Regions from separate parts of the Homo sapiens genome. Here all the other regions are linked to region 2. The links are contacts of gene promoters, found by promoter capture Hi-C in human tissues and cell types (Jung and others, 2019). All regions are on one chromosome and are shown on one strand. Each heading gives the region's core, a stretch centred on a gene start or on the middle of the fragment in contact. The rest is flanking DNA. Distances are from core to core; before and after follow the strand shown. Region 1 has its middle 20 kb from the start of NEK3. Region 2 holds the start of CCDC70 (coiled-coil domain containing 70). Region 3 has its middle 6.4 kb from the start of INTS6-AS1.

Evidence for each region. The method cuts DNA at HindIII sites, captures the fragments that hold promoters and counts their contacts. A contact is called where the count stands out against the background at its distance.
Region 1: a contact is called between a fragment that was not itself captured here and the fragment with the promoter of CCDC70 in region 2, in 2 of the 25 tissues and cell types used here (liver and mesendoderm cells).
Region 3: a contact is called between a fragment that was not itself captured here and the fragment with the promoter of CCDC70 in region 2, in 1 of the 25 tissues and cell types used here (hippocampus).

Annotation. Positions count from the first base shown.
Region 1 is chr13:52,177,315-52,182,170 of GRCh38, forward strand. It overlaps the pseudogene MRPS31P5. Among named protein-coding and RNA genes, the nearest start is that of NEK3, 20 kb to the left of the region's middle. The HindIII fragment of the contact is 6,460 bases long and covers 1-4,856 here.
Region 2 is chr13:51,860,607-51,865,113 of GRCh38, forward strand. It overlaps CCDC70 (coiled-coil domain containing 70), which reads left to right and starts at 1,363. Exons shown (of 2, transcript NM_031290.4): 1 at 1,363-1,623. It also overlaps a transcript of TMEM272 not described here. RefSeq lists an enhancer at 965-2,164. The HindIII fragment of the contact is 9,463 bases long and covers 1-4,507 here.
Region 3 is chr13:51,457,565-51,461,843 of GRCh38, forward strand. It overlaps the pseudogene RPS4XP16. Among named protein-coding and RNA genes, the nearest start is that of INTS6-AS1, 6.4 kb to the left of the region's middle. The HindIII fragment of the contact is 4,498 bases long and covers 602-4,279 here.

The DNA of each region.
Region 1 (4,856 bases), core at 1,920-4,419, 320 kb after region 2:
TCTCAAATCATTAGCTGAGTGAAAGAAGCCAGATGCAAAAGAGTACATACTGTGTGATTTCATTTATGTACAATTCTAAGAGATGCAACCTAATCTATTTTAACAGAAAGCAGATCAAAGGTTGCCTGCATTTTGTGTGTGTGTGTGTATGTGTGGGTGTGTCAGGCTAAAGGACATAAGGAAACTTTTAAGGGTCATGAAAATGTTCAGATTTATAAGTGGGAGTTTCGTGGGTGTATCTATTTGTCAAAACTAGTCGAGTTATATACTTCAAATGTGTGCAGTTTGTTGCACACAAATTACACCTTAATAAAGTTGTAAAAGGAAAATGAATATCAATATCTATCCCTTGGCTACTTTTTTCCCTGTATTTTTGGACCTTAATTATTTTTTCAAACATTTTTGACCTTTCTGGGCTAGAGGCATAGACTGCATATGATTTATCCTCCAGCCTACCTGTTTACACACTTTTGTCAAGCCCCCTAAAGCATGTCAACAAATAGCTCATTTACTCTTCTACCTGGGTAAGCCTTATTTTATCTATTTGCTTTTTCTGAATGGGTTTCTGTGAGCCTTTATGTGCAGAAATGTGTCTAATCACACACTGACTGGCAGAAATTAAGTATTTTCACCTAGATCATCTGATACTGGGTAACTATCACAGTTGTTAGGCTTAACTAGCCACATTTACAGAGCAATCACACCAATAAAATAACTATCTCAGTTATCTTTTATTTGGTGGACACTGACCGACCTATGTCTTTTCCATCATCATCAGGATCATCATATTTTACACTTGCTAATAGTTGCAAACATTTATTAAATGTGTACTACGTTCCAGGCACTGTGCCTCACACTTTTCTCAGATGACCTCATTTAATCCCGGAGATGTATGTACTAACCCCCATTTTATAGGTGGGGAAAGCTTAGTGCAGCAGAATCGGAATTTGAATCCAGTTCTACACAACACCAACACTGTTTCTGTTGAGCTATACTGCCTGTCAACTCTCGGATAACCAGTAGGGCCTATGACAATATCCTTTGTAGCAGTGGTAAGAATTTAGTGGGGAACAAGACGTGGGAATCATGGAACAGAATAACTCAATCAATCGGTCAATAAAAAAATTACTGAATGCCAACTATATTTCCAGCATTGTTTGGGATATAAGATAACAACAATGAACAACTGCTAAATTTAAGTTTCCACATTTTGTTATTCTTGTACTTAAATGGAAACAAAAAACATTCTTTAGACTCATGCAAGTACAGCACATTCAAACAGTAACTTCATTAAATTATTACATAAATTTGTGTGCTACTTTCCTCACTAGAATATAATCATTTGATACTGTTTTATAAAATACATAAAATTTAAATGCCTCCTTGCCAACTAATTTCAGTTTAAGAAATAAGATTTTTTTATTTTAAAAAGTAAGCTGGCTTCTTCCGGAATCCAAGTATCTCTTTTGGCTGGACAACAGCAGCTGCCCTGACAAAAAATTCCTTTCTGATGCACACTTAACGGATACCATTTGAGCAGGGGAGAGGTGATTCATTGTCCCTATGCATTTTGCATTTCCTTTTTATCATACACAACAGAATGCAGTTTTTGTAATACAGGGGGTTGTTCTTTTAGCTTCACCTTCAGTTCTAACGAACAAACGTTAATTGAATTCACTACTTTCCTTTATAGATGTATATTTTATACTACAGTTTCTTCAAAAAGAATTTAAGATTTAAGATAACTAGTTCCTATGATCTGTAAGCCACATGAGTAGATGCTATAGGGTATATAGACATGAATGAGATCTAGCCTCTAACATAGTTTATTAAATAGGGGGAAAATCAGAAGTTCATGTAAGTAACTGGTAGAAAGATTAAATGAGCCATTGGAGGCTGGCCTAGGAACTTATCTATCACGTACAACATTTTTTTTTCTCCTTTGAGGGGGGGTCTCACTCTGTCACTTAGGCTGGAGTGTTATGGCACAATTGTAGCTCATTGCAGCATTGAATTCTGGGCTCCAGTGATCCTCCCACCTCAACCTCCCAGGTTGCTAGGACTATAGGCATGCACCACCATACCCAGATAATTTTTTTCTATTTTTTTACAGAAAGGATCTCACTATGTTGCCCAGGCTGGTCTTGAACTCCTAATCCCAAGCCATCCTGTCATCTCAGCCTCCTAAGTGCATATACAACATTATTTCTATCAAAGTCCAAAAAACTAACTTCTATTCATTAGAAATGCTCATCACTTACACTCTGGAGACCATCTGTATTGAGTTTCTTCATTTATTTTACTAGTAAACCAAATTTAATGCCAAGCAAGAGGACACTCATTTCTCTTTTAGACTTAAATGGTAAATTTCTTACCCAAAGAAAAGGGGAAGAACAGAGAACAAAGACCAACCATGTGTTAAGAAAAAAACACAAGTCTCTTAAATATATTCCTTGAATGTTCTTCCCATCTCCTGAACAATCACTAAATCACTTCAATAAGTTATTTTATAAATGCTATCTCCTCTTCTAGATAGCAAGCTGCCTAGGGACAGGAACCAGTATGTCTTTATGTAATAGCATAGAGATACACTGCAAATGGTAGGTGATTAATAATGTTCTAACCCAAATTAGGGGCTAATCTGGACCTCTGGATTCATGTAATCGGTAATACTCACCTCCCATTATCTCACAGAATGCAACATTTCAAGAGGGAAACTGAACCACAACTAGCAATCTCAACAACTGTAGTGTGGTATGTCCCCCACCAGGTTACTGTGTATGTGTGTTGCTTGAACCCTGAAGGCTGGGCAGGGAGCCAAGGCCACAGTGCCTAGCTGAGGAGCAGGTGTCCCTGAGAACCCAAACATCCCAGGGCATACCTCAAAACATATCAAGGAAAACAGTCTCATCGTGCACACACAGTAGGCAAACAGCCAGAATATAAGCTTAAAAGCAGCTTAGAGATAAGAGGCAGGGTGACTCTACAGCTGCCCAGAAATGTCCAGTAGGTAAGTTCTAGTAAACTCATCTATTCATCAAGCTGGACTTGCCCAAATTATTCTTTGGTCTCTCGATGCCTTCCCAATTTGGGGGGACGTTATAGTCCCGAGTTTTCCTTCTAACAACCGCCACATTCATCATTCGGATCCAGGCCAATGACAGGAGGGAATATTAAAATATCCGACTATTACACCATCAAAACCTTCAGGACATCTTGTAAAGATGGAATATTTCTCCACCTGAGAAACAGTTATTCTTAACAAACCTGTTCAGGTGCTTCTTTAGTAACTGTCGTCACGTCAAAACTATTACATCTCTTCCCCTTGAATATGTTTTTCCTAAGACAAAAAAAAAAAAAGAATATTTTAATGAATATATTTTAAACTGTCAACAAAAATTATGAGAAAAAAATTTAAGTGAAATATTCTATGTAAAAATTCAAAATAATTCCACTGACGCACATCAAACATCTTACCTAAATTGCCACATTTTTAGGACCGATAGACTAAAAACAGAAATGTGCACTTGAAGTTTTGCTTCATAATACAACAAATCAGTTACAGCAACTTAATTTCCAAAATATCTAATTGAAAAGATTAGCTCAATTTGCCATAATTTTTATTTGTTCCCTTTTATATTAAGTTTTAAAAACTCTATGTTGTGAAAAACTATAAAACTATGCAAAAAAGAAGCTGTTGAAGTCGACATTTGTTTTTAAGGGCAGAAAACATTGCAATGTTTAATTACAAATTATAATTACAAAAGATTGCATAGGTAAATCACAACATTCCCTTTCATAAAGCATTCTGTAAAATAACTTTCTTTACATGACGATTTTTAATTAACTATTGAAATTAATATCAGAGTTAATAAGTAACATTGTCTTGCAAACTTGATATGCTTTATGCATCAATTTACATATTTACTTGAATAAACTTACTGGCAGATTAAAATCCAGTTTATAAACTGGAGGGTTAATTTTAAAAATAATTTCAAATTCTTTTTTTATGGACTAAGTTACTTTTCTCTACTAAATAGAACTGGAAAAAATGCAAATACCATATGAACGTTAAATAATGTGATCTCAAGTCATACAAGTTTTCCTCTAGCAGGTTCCTAAGTTATTTGTAAACAAAGGTTTTTATGCCAGAATTTTCCTCAGTGCCTTGCATTCTTCTCCCTCAACCGAACATCCGGTGAACAGGATGGTGGATTAAAGCAAGTCACAGCAGAGAGGAAATGCCTTGGTAAAGCACTGAACTTCAAAAGAGGAATGTACAACAGAGAAAGGGAATGGACATTTGCTGAGCACCTACTATGTACCAGATAGTTTATACGTGGTTTCTTTTCTATTCCTCAAGAAAGCCATTTAAGCTAGGTTTCACTTTCAGCATTTTACAGCTGGGGAAACAGGCTGATGAAGGCTATAAAAGGTGCCCCGGTCACAGAATTAGTCAGTGGCAGTGCCAACATTCTGAGAAAGGCCAGTGTGAACTGTCAATTTCCAACAGAAGCAATAAGTCCAGGCCTGGGTTGTCTGGGGTTGATACCTCAGACCCTGCCCAAGTCATATCAGGGTGAACAACTTGGCATCTCACCATTGCTTCCCCTTACTCCCCTTTAGCTGGCTTTTTAACACACTGAAGGCACAGGAACCCCTTTCCTACTTTTTTAGTTTCTCCTTTGCCACCTAATTTTTAAAATATTAAATATCAAATCTAATACTAAAAATCAAATATGCCATCCCGATGTAGCTGCACAGTATTATATGCAAGCTGAATGATTCAGTTAAATTTTCTCCAGTATTAACTGACTCAGTTAAATATTCTTAAGTAAAACTCCAAGAGCACTTTC
Region 2 (4,507 bases), core at 113-2,612:
GCACTCCAGCCTGAGTGACAGAAACATGTCTCAAAAAAAAAAAAAAAAAGCATTAAAGGAAAGAATTAAAAACTATGCCTTACCAAAAAGAGACAGAAAAGTATGTGTGCATACATATATATATGTGTGTGTGTATATATATATATACACACACACACACTTTGTATACATATACTTTTATATAGATATATAGAAAAAATATATATATAGAAGTGTGTGTGTGTGTGTGTGTGTATATATATGTATATAGAAAAGCACATATATCCTTTTCTATATATAACCAAACAAATTCTGGAGACACAGTGAAAATTTCTGGAGAAATTCTGGATGGACTAGGGGTCCACTGACAGATGAATGGATAAAGAAATTGCAGCATGTATATAAAGTGGAATATTATTCAGTCATAAACAGAGAATCCTGCCGTTTGTCACAAGATAGATGAAACTGGAGAATATTATGCTAAGTGAAATAAGCCAGACACAGAAAGAAAAATGCTGCACAACTTCACTTATATGTAGAATATTAAAAAAATTAAAAAGAAGAAGTAAGAAAAAAGTCAAATACACAGACAAAGAATAAAATGGCAGCTGCTACGTGTGGGGAGTGGACGGGAAGAGGGAAATCAAAGGGTACAAAGTTGCAGATATATAGGATAAATAATTTAGAGATCTAAGGTACAACATGAGGACTGTAGTTAATAACACTGTATTAAAGATTTTTGCTAAGAGAGTAGATTGTGGGTGCTCTTGCTACAGTGCACAAAAAAGGGTAACTATATGAGATGATGGATATGTTAATTTACTTGACTATTTAAAAATTTTACTACATGACAAAAATTCTGGAGTTGAAAATGAAAAATTAAAGAGGGATTCAACAGCATATTTGAACTGACAGAAGAAAAAAATCCATGAACTTGTAAACAGGTTAATTGAGATTATCTAATCTAAGCAACAGAAAGAAAAAAGAATGAAGAAAAATGAACGTAACTTTAGAGACCTGGGGGACACACTCACGCTACTAGTATTCACATAATATGAGCCCTAGAAGGAGAGGAGACAGAGAAAATGGATGAAAGAATATTTGAAGAAATAATGGCCAAAAACTTCTGAAATTTGATGAAAAACGGCATCAAATCTGCATATCCAAGAAGCTCAACAATCTCCAAGTAGAATAAACCTCAAGACCAAGACACATCATAGTCAAACTATCAAAAGCCAAAGACGAAGAATCTGGAAAGCAGCAAGAGAAGTGATTCATCCCACACAAAGCCCCCACCAGAACATGACTTCCTAGAACCATGCTCCCGGAACCAATGCTGACAGAATCTAAGGTAACAATCACTTGTGAGTCATCAACAGCACTGCCCTATCAGTGAAGTCAAAGATTGAAGAGGAACTCTTTCAAACCTTTCAAGTGCCCCCTCCTTTCCTTAAAGTCTTTTATAGGGGTCCCCTTCTTGGCCATCTCCATCCTGTGAGTCAGGACTGAAAGGGCACAGACAGGTCACTGCCAGCATTGTTGGGGCAAGCCTGCAAGCACGCATCACTGGGGATCTGACATGACAATGGCCGCCTGCCCCCTCTGAGGGCTACAGGACTTACCCCAGTGGGAAGCAGCTAAGCAGTAAGTAACTGTTGGCTTTAGACTGTATAGTATTTGTTCTAAGCATAAGGTAATATATAATATTTTCCTTAAAAAGAAGCTCCTAGTCTTACAGTATAACTGAAAACTGGGCATGTATCTTTAGTGCATGTTTTTACAGCTATACAGATACACATCTACAGTTTTATATTGTACTTTATATTTTAATACACATCTACCTATTTGATATGGTTCTTATTTTCTTTCTTTCTTAAAGAAAGTTTAGTGTTCACTTGAGAAAAACTTGGAGGTGAATGTTTTCCAACATCCTAACCCAGTAGACGCCCATTCATCCAGCTACTATTTCCTGAACACCTATCCTGTGGCAGAACATTTCGCTGGATGCCAGACATAGAGATGGAAGATGAGGTGTTTCTAGTGGGACAGGAAGGGCACATGCTCAGTCTGAGCTTAGGAGAGATGGCCTGGAGGAGGTATCTGAGTGCTGAAGGATTCGCTAGGTGAACTGAAGTGAGGTTGGGCAAGGATATCCAGGGAGAGGGGGCCAGCATGACATGGAAGTGAGGGAGGACTTCACATATTGGAGGGATTCTAGGCAAAGAGCCATACAACATAGAAAATCAAATTTCCAAAATGCAGTTCAATTCAGTTCAATTCAACCAACATTTTCACCAATTCCCTCCTATATAGGCGGCGTTATATTATGATAGCTGCTGGGTTACAGAGATGTCAGGAAGACATGTCCACACCTAATTTCAATCAAGTGTGACAAGTAATAGTGGAGTAACAGACAGACAGTATCGCAGAGGTGGCGAGGAACTTTGTCTGGAGGGTCCGAGTAGCTTTCAGAGGGGAAAGGATGTACAGGAATTCAAGCCCACCACAGGAACAAAAGGGGCTCTCAGTAGAGGATGCGACATGTGCTTCACCACACAGGCAGGAAACTGCAGGCAGAGTGCCAAGAGCTGAATAGAGCCCGTTAATACTGGGCCTTAGATTTGGAGTTGGGTGCAGGCTGGGTAGGAAGGAGAGGGAGAAGCAAGCTGGAGTTGGGCTGCACAAGGCCTTCCTAGGGCGTTCAGCTTTGATCTTTGGGCTACAGGGTCTTTGAAGGTGTGTGAACTGATGTGATAGGACGAGAGAGTGTTCTAGAAAACACCTGTAGGGCTACAGTGCAGGGGCAGATGAGAGGGTAAGATCAATACAGAGAGCAGCGAGACTGTTACAGGCATCCTGGCCTGACCTGGCTGTCATGGGGGAGATGGAACAGGGGCATGGTTTCAGGAAATGTTAAGGATCTGGATCTCGGCTAGGAGGGCTTGATGGTTGAGGAGAGAAGTCTGGTGAGGGAGAGGGAAAGGTCAAGGATGTGCCCCTGGTTCTGGTTTGTGTGACTGGATGGATGGTGATGCCACCAGCTGTCCACAGCCTAGCCACTGTGTCTTCATATGCACGCGCACACAGACACACACACACACACACACACACACACACACACACACCAGCTATGTGTCTTTTCTCCTCCTCCACTCCCTGTTCCTAAACCAGAAATGGAAAAATACAGAGAAAGCCCTGAAAATTTCCCCAATAGGTCTCACGGATGATGGGTTGGTGAGATCCACTGAGTGAGGGCCGGACCCTGGCAGCTTCCTCCAGAAAGCACAAAATGGAAAACAATGCTGTCAGCATGTGCCTGCACTCCTTATCTGACAACACTGAGCTCTTTACTGCACTCTAACCACCTTCCTATGTCCAGCACTTTTTCTCATCCCTTGATTCATGTTTGTAGTTACAGGGATTGCTATGGATAATTCTGCTATCTGATTCCTCAGATATATGGCAATGTTTGAAGATCTTTCTCCTTCCCTCCCTCCCTTCCTTCCCTCCCTTCCTTCCTTCCCTCCCTCTCTTTTTCTTTTCTTTTTTTCTTTTCCTTCTTTCTTCCTCCCAGCTTTTATTTTATTGTGAAATATACTGTATTGACTGGGGTACATAAAATATCCATGTACCACTTAACACATTTTTATAACAACACACATGAAACCGCCACCAAGCAAAGAAAGAGTCCTGCTAGCACTGCAGAAGCCTCTCTCAAGTACTCACCTAATCACACCCCTTAGTCTCACCTCCTCATCCCACACTCCAAATCCTCCCACACCAGCAACTATTACTCTGACTTTGGGACTCACTTCCTTGCTTTTCTCTTTCTGTGTTGAAGTATGTTCCCCTAGACAATGGCATTTAGTCTTGCTTGTTTGGAACTTCATTCTTTGAAATTCCCTGATCCTGCTTCTCTCTTTCAGCATTGGGTTTATAAGATTTACCCATGCTGTTGTAGGCAGCCATGCTGTCTGCCATGTGGATATACTGCCATTTTTTATTCCACTCTATTGGGATGGTCATTGGATTGTTTCCAGAGTTGAGCTCTTATGAACAAAGCTCCTTGAACACACTTGTACATGTATCCTAGTCACAGTTCCTAAGTTTCCTCAGGGTTTATACCTGGGACTGGAGCTGCGGGTCATCTGGTGTCTTTCTTATTGTTCCATATTACTAAATATTGTGTGAGGGCCTTCTTGGTCCATGTCCCTGGAAACATTCACCATCGTCTCTCACCTTTTTGTTTTAAACCACTTTTCCCAAAATAAACTCCTCTCCTAAAATACACTCTCCTCCTCCCCTCTGAGGTCAGTGGGCCTGTCTTCTGTGTCCCAGGCTCGTAACAGAGGACATTCACACGTGAGCATGCCCATAGGCAGATAGGAACAATTCTCAAGTGAGTACACCAAAACCTAAATTCATTCGGATTGATTTAACAAACGTAAATTCTTCTTGGCCTCATCATGTCACACCTATGTGTTCTGATACCCTAGTTGACAGCCACTGTCCTTCTTGGCTGAGTGTC
Region 3 (4,279 bases), core at 1,601-4,100, 400 kb before region 2:
ATGAGGCAGACCAGGAAAGAAATGAGGACATACATAGGCGGTAGTCAGAAACTAGGAAGCATTGACAAGCAGTCCCTAGACAAAGTTGTGAAATAAGCCAAGTTTATTATTAGTGACTCTGGTTGACAGTTTAGCTATTGGTGGATGATAGCCTAAAGCAGTGGTTATTAGCCAAGAAATGCACATCGGCATCTCCCATAAGGCTTAAAAAAATAATGTGCCAAGTGCCCATCCCCAGAGGAAAGGAATTCAGTAGATTTGAGATAGGCCTTGGTCATTTCATTTTTTTTTTAAAGTTCTTCAGGTGAATCTTATACATAATTCTGATTAGGAACCACATGCTTAATGTATAAGAATAATGTATGTACCTGGCATCTAGTAGTACTCAGTAAATAACTTAAAAAATTCACAAAACTTTAGAGTTAACTGCATTTTTAAGTAGAACTCCTAAAATAAATCTGCACACTAGAGGAAAAAAAAAAAACCCTGGGTGATCACCAATATATTTAACAATGGATTTGTATCATATGCATATTTATGAATTCAACTATGTTTTGCAAAAAAGAAAAAGAGAAAACCAAATACTGCTGGAGATTCCCGCTCTTCCCTTAGTGAGCTTAGGCCCTGGAGTGAGCAAAAGATGAAAAACATGAATCTCTTCTTCACTCAACTTCTATCTGTGATTCTAGAAAGATTCTGGTTATATTCAGCCTTATTTTTCTAAAATGTGGCCCCCAAATGCAAGACAAGTATTTCACCAGACTCACCTGAAGAAACAGTGAGCTCTTGCAGTGCTAGAGAGAAAACTAGTTAGAGTAGTCTGTGCTGAGCCTTGTAATGTTACAGTCTAAAGAATTAGGGAAGATTTTTCTGGGAGGGCAATGGTCAGAATAGGTATATTGGAGAAAACTTCATCTTTGCTGCTGCTTTTAAAGGAATGTTTTCTTAATGCTCTTGCTCCAATTTAAAAGGGCATAAATAAATTATATGAAAACTTTTGAAAGAATGGTGACCCTGGCTTAAATAATAACCTAAATTGTTGAAATGGAGCTATTCTAACAGAATTAAAACTGATGAATTAGATTCATTTGTAAGAGCCAACCAGAGCCCTTTTAAATTATTTTAAACCAATTAAGCAGGGTAACACAGTTTAAAAATAATTATGTGCCAATGACTTGGTTTATGATATCTAGATGTGCCATCTGAGCAGAATAATCAGATACACTTAGTGTTCCTCATATGTAACCTAACAAAGTTTCTTTTAGCTGTCTTACCATTTCCTCAGCGCTCTGCTATACTACTCTCTTTGAGATCACATTAGTCAACGATATGGAGAGGTTGAGAACATCAAATAACATATAAAAGTTATAAGCATAAAAAAATTAGATGCGAAACTGTCCAGCCAATGTAATCAGTTAATACATATCTAAGGAAATTTAATTTTGGTCATACTAATGTTACATCAGCCCTCAAAAGAAAATGCTGGTAGAGATGACTATTAAGAAGAAATTAGATCTTTCCAATGAATGGTGTTTCACAGTAATAGTTGAAGTCTCAGACAATTCAAGATCAGCCCTGAAAAGGGGTACATCCAGATTGACAATTAGAATCAAAGTGGAACAGCAGAAGAACATGAACATTGCAGTCATTCTTTCAACTAATATTAATTCCACACCTAATATATGACAGCCACTGTGTTAGGTCCTCAGAGAATTTATAATCTAGTGGAAAGACAAGACAGATAACAGATAATGAGAATACAATATTATGATGTCAGCAGACCCCAGGCATAAAATAAGATGACTTATAGGGTTCGTTTGACAATTTGAGGTAACATACCATATTTTATCAATTTTAAGACCATGAGTTGTAACAAACACCATTATTTTTGGACCATGGAGGGGGCCGGAGGGAAATGCTGCTACTTAAACTATGACACATAGAATTTTTCCACATTGTATTGAATTCTGCTAAGAGCATTAGTGATGCAACATTTTTTAAAATAATATTCCACTATTATCTTTGGGTTTTTTTTGCAAGCTGTTGGGGTCCATTCTATGAGTTTCAATGCTGGTGCTTTCTTATTGCAACTCAGAGGTATCAATGAAGGGTTTTCAGATCACAACCAGGATTTAAATCCTTTCTTTAAATGATTAGTTGACTGAAATGTCAAGGGTTTGCAGTTGTCTAATCATGCCACCAGGAATAACCAGGAAGTTTGCACATGTTCAGGCTAAGACAACTACATCACAACTACCTTCTGGTGACAGCATTGTAAGACACCATGATTGTAAGATGCCATTCCAGTTTTAGAAATATTGGAAAGATGTACATCTTAGATTTGGCAAAATATCATTTATTGCTGGCAGCTATTAAAATATGTGTTATTAGGAGAATGTACAAAGAGCACTGTGAGCACTGAGGATAGAGCACCTAACTCTCACAAAGGAAGTGATATTTGGGCAGACAGAAGTCATGAGGATGCATGAATGGGTAAGAAAGGGCAGTTTCGAGCTGCAACTACATGTGTGGGAGAGTGGTAGGACCGGATGCTGGGCCATGTCAAGAAGAGTTTCATGTGCTCAACTAAAAAATTTTTGAATCTTATTATTTGGGTGATAGACAAAGTTTTGGGGTCAGGGAGTGACCCTGATGATATAATTTGGCTATATCAAATCTCATGTTGAAATCTGATCCCCAATATTGATGGTGGGGTCTGGTGGGAGGTGATTGGATTACGGGGACAAGTCCCTCATGAATGGCTTGGTGCCATTGTCTGAGGATTGAGTGAATTCTCACTCTTTGTTTCTGCAAGGTCTGGTTGTTAAAAAGAGCCTGGGACCTTTCTCCCGTTTCCCTCTTGCTTCCTCTCTCGTCATCTGACATACCACTCTCTTTCCCCTTCCACCATCATTGGAAGCTTCCAAAAGCAGAGGCTCGCTCTTTCCTTGCCTAACGCAGCCATGGCTTGTGGTCCCAAGAAGCATCTGAAGTGAGTAGCAGCTCCAAAGCACTGGATGCTGGATAAATTGACCAGTATGTTTGCTCCTTGTCCATCCACCAGTCCCCACAAGTTGAGAGTGTCTTCCCCTCATCATTTTCCTAAGGAACAGACTTAAGTATGCCCTGGAAGGAGATGAAGTAAAGAAGATTTGCATGCAGCGGTTTATTAAAATTGATGGCAAGGTCTAAACTGATATAACCTACCCTGCTGGATTCATGGAGGCCATCAGCATTGACAAGACAGAAGAGAATTTCTCTCTGATCTATGACACCAAGAGTCTCTTTGCTGTACATCATATTACACCTGAGGAGGCCAAGTACAAGTTGTGCAAAGTGAGAAAAATCTTTCTGGGAACAAAAGGAATCCCTCATCTGGTGACTCATGATGGTCGCACCATCCGCTACACTGATCCCCTTATCAAGGTGAATGATACCATTCAGATTGATTTGGAGACTGGCAAGATTACTGATTTCATCAAATTCGACACTGGTCACCTGTGTATGGTGACTGGAGGTGCTAACCTGGGAAGAATTGGTGTGATCACCAACAGAGAGAGGCACCCTGGATCTTTTGACATTGTTCACATGGAAGATGCCAATGGCAACAGCTTTGCCACTCAACTTTCCAACATTTTTGTTATTGGCAAGGGCAACAAACTATGGATTTCTCTTCCCTGAGGAAAGGGTATCCGCCTCACCATTGCTGAAGAGAGAGACAAAAGACTGCCAAACAGAGCAGTGGGTGAAATGGTCCCAGGGTGACATGTTAGATCTTTGTACGTAATTGAAAATAATGTGGCAAGATTAATAGCAAAAAAAGAAAAAAAAATCAGAGTCTTATGCCAGGCATGCATCTTGTACAGCCTGCAGAACCATGCGCCAAGTAAACCTCTTTTTCTTTTTTTTTCTTTTTTTTTTTTTTTTTTGAGACAGAGTCTCTCCCTGTTGCCCAGGCTGAAGTACAATGGCGCTATCTTGGCTCACTGCAACCTCCACCTCCCAGGTTCAAGTGATTCTCCTGCCTCAGCCTCCCAAGTAGCTGGGATTACAGGCACCCGCCACCATGCCCAGCTAATTTTGTATTTTTAGTACAGACAGGGTTTCACTATGTTGGCCGGGCTGGTCTAGAACTCATTACCTCAGGTGATCTGCCCGCCTCAGCCTTCCAAAGTGGTGGGATTACAGGCGTGAGCCACAGCACCCAGCTTAAACCTCTTTTCTTTATAAATTACCCAGCCTTGGGTATTCTTTTATAGCAATGCAAAACAGACTAAGA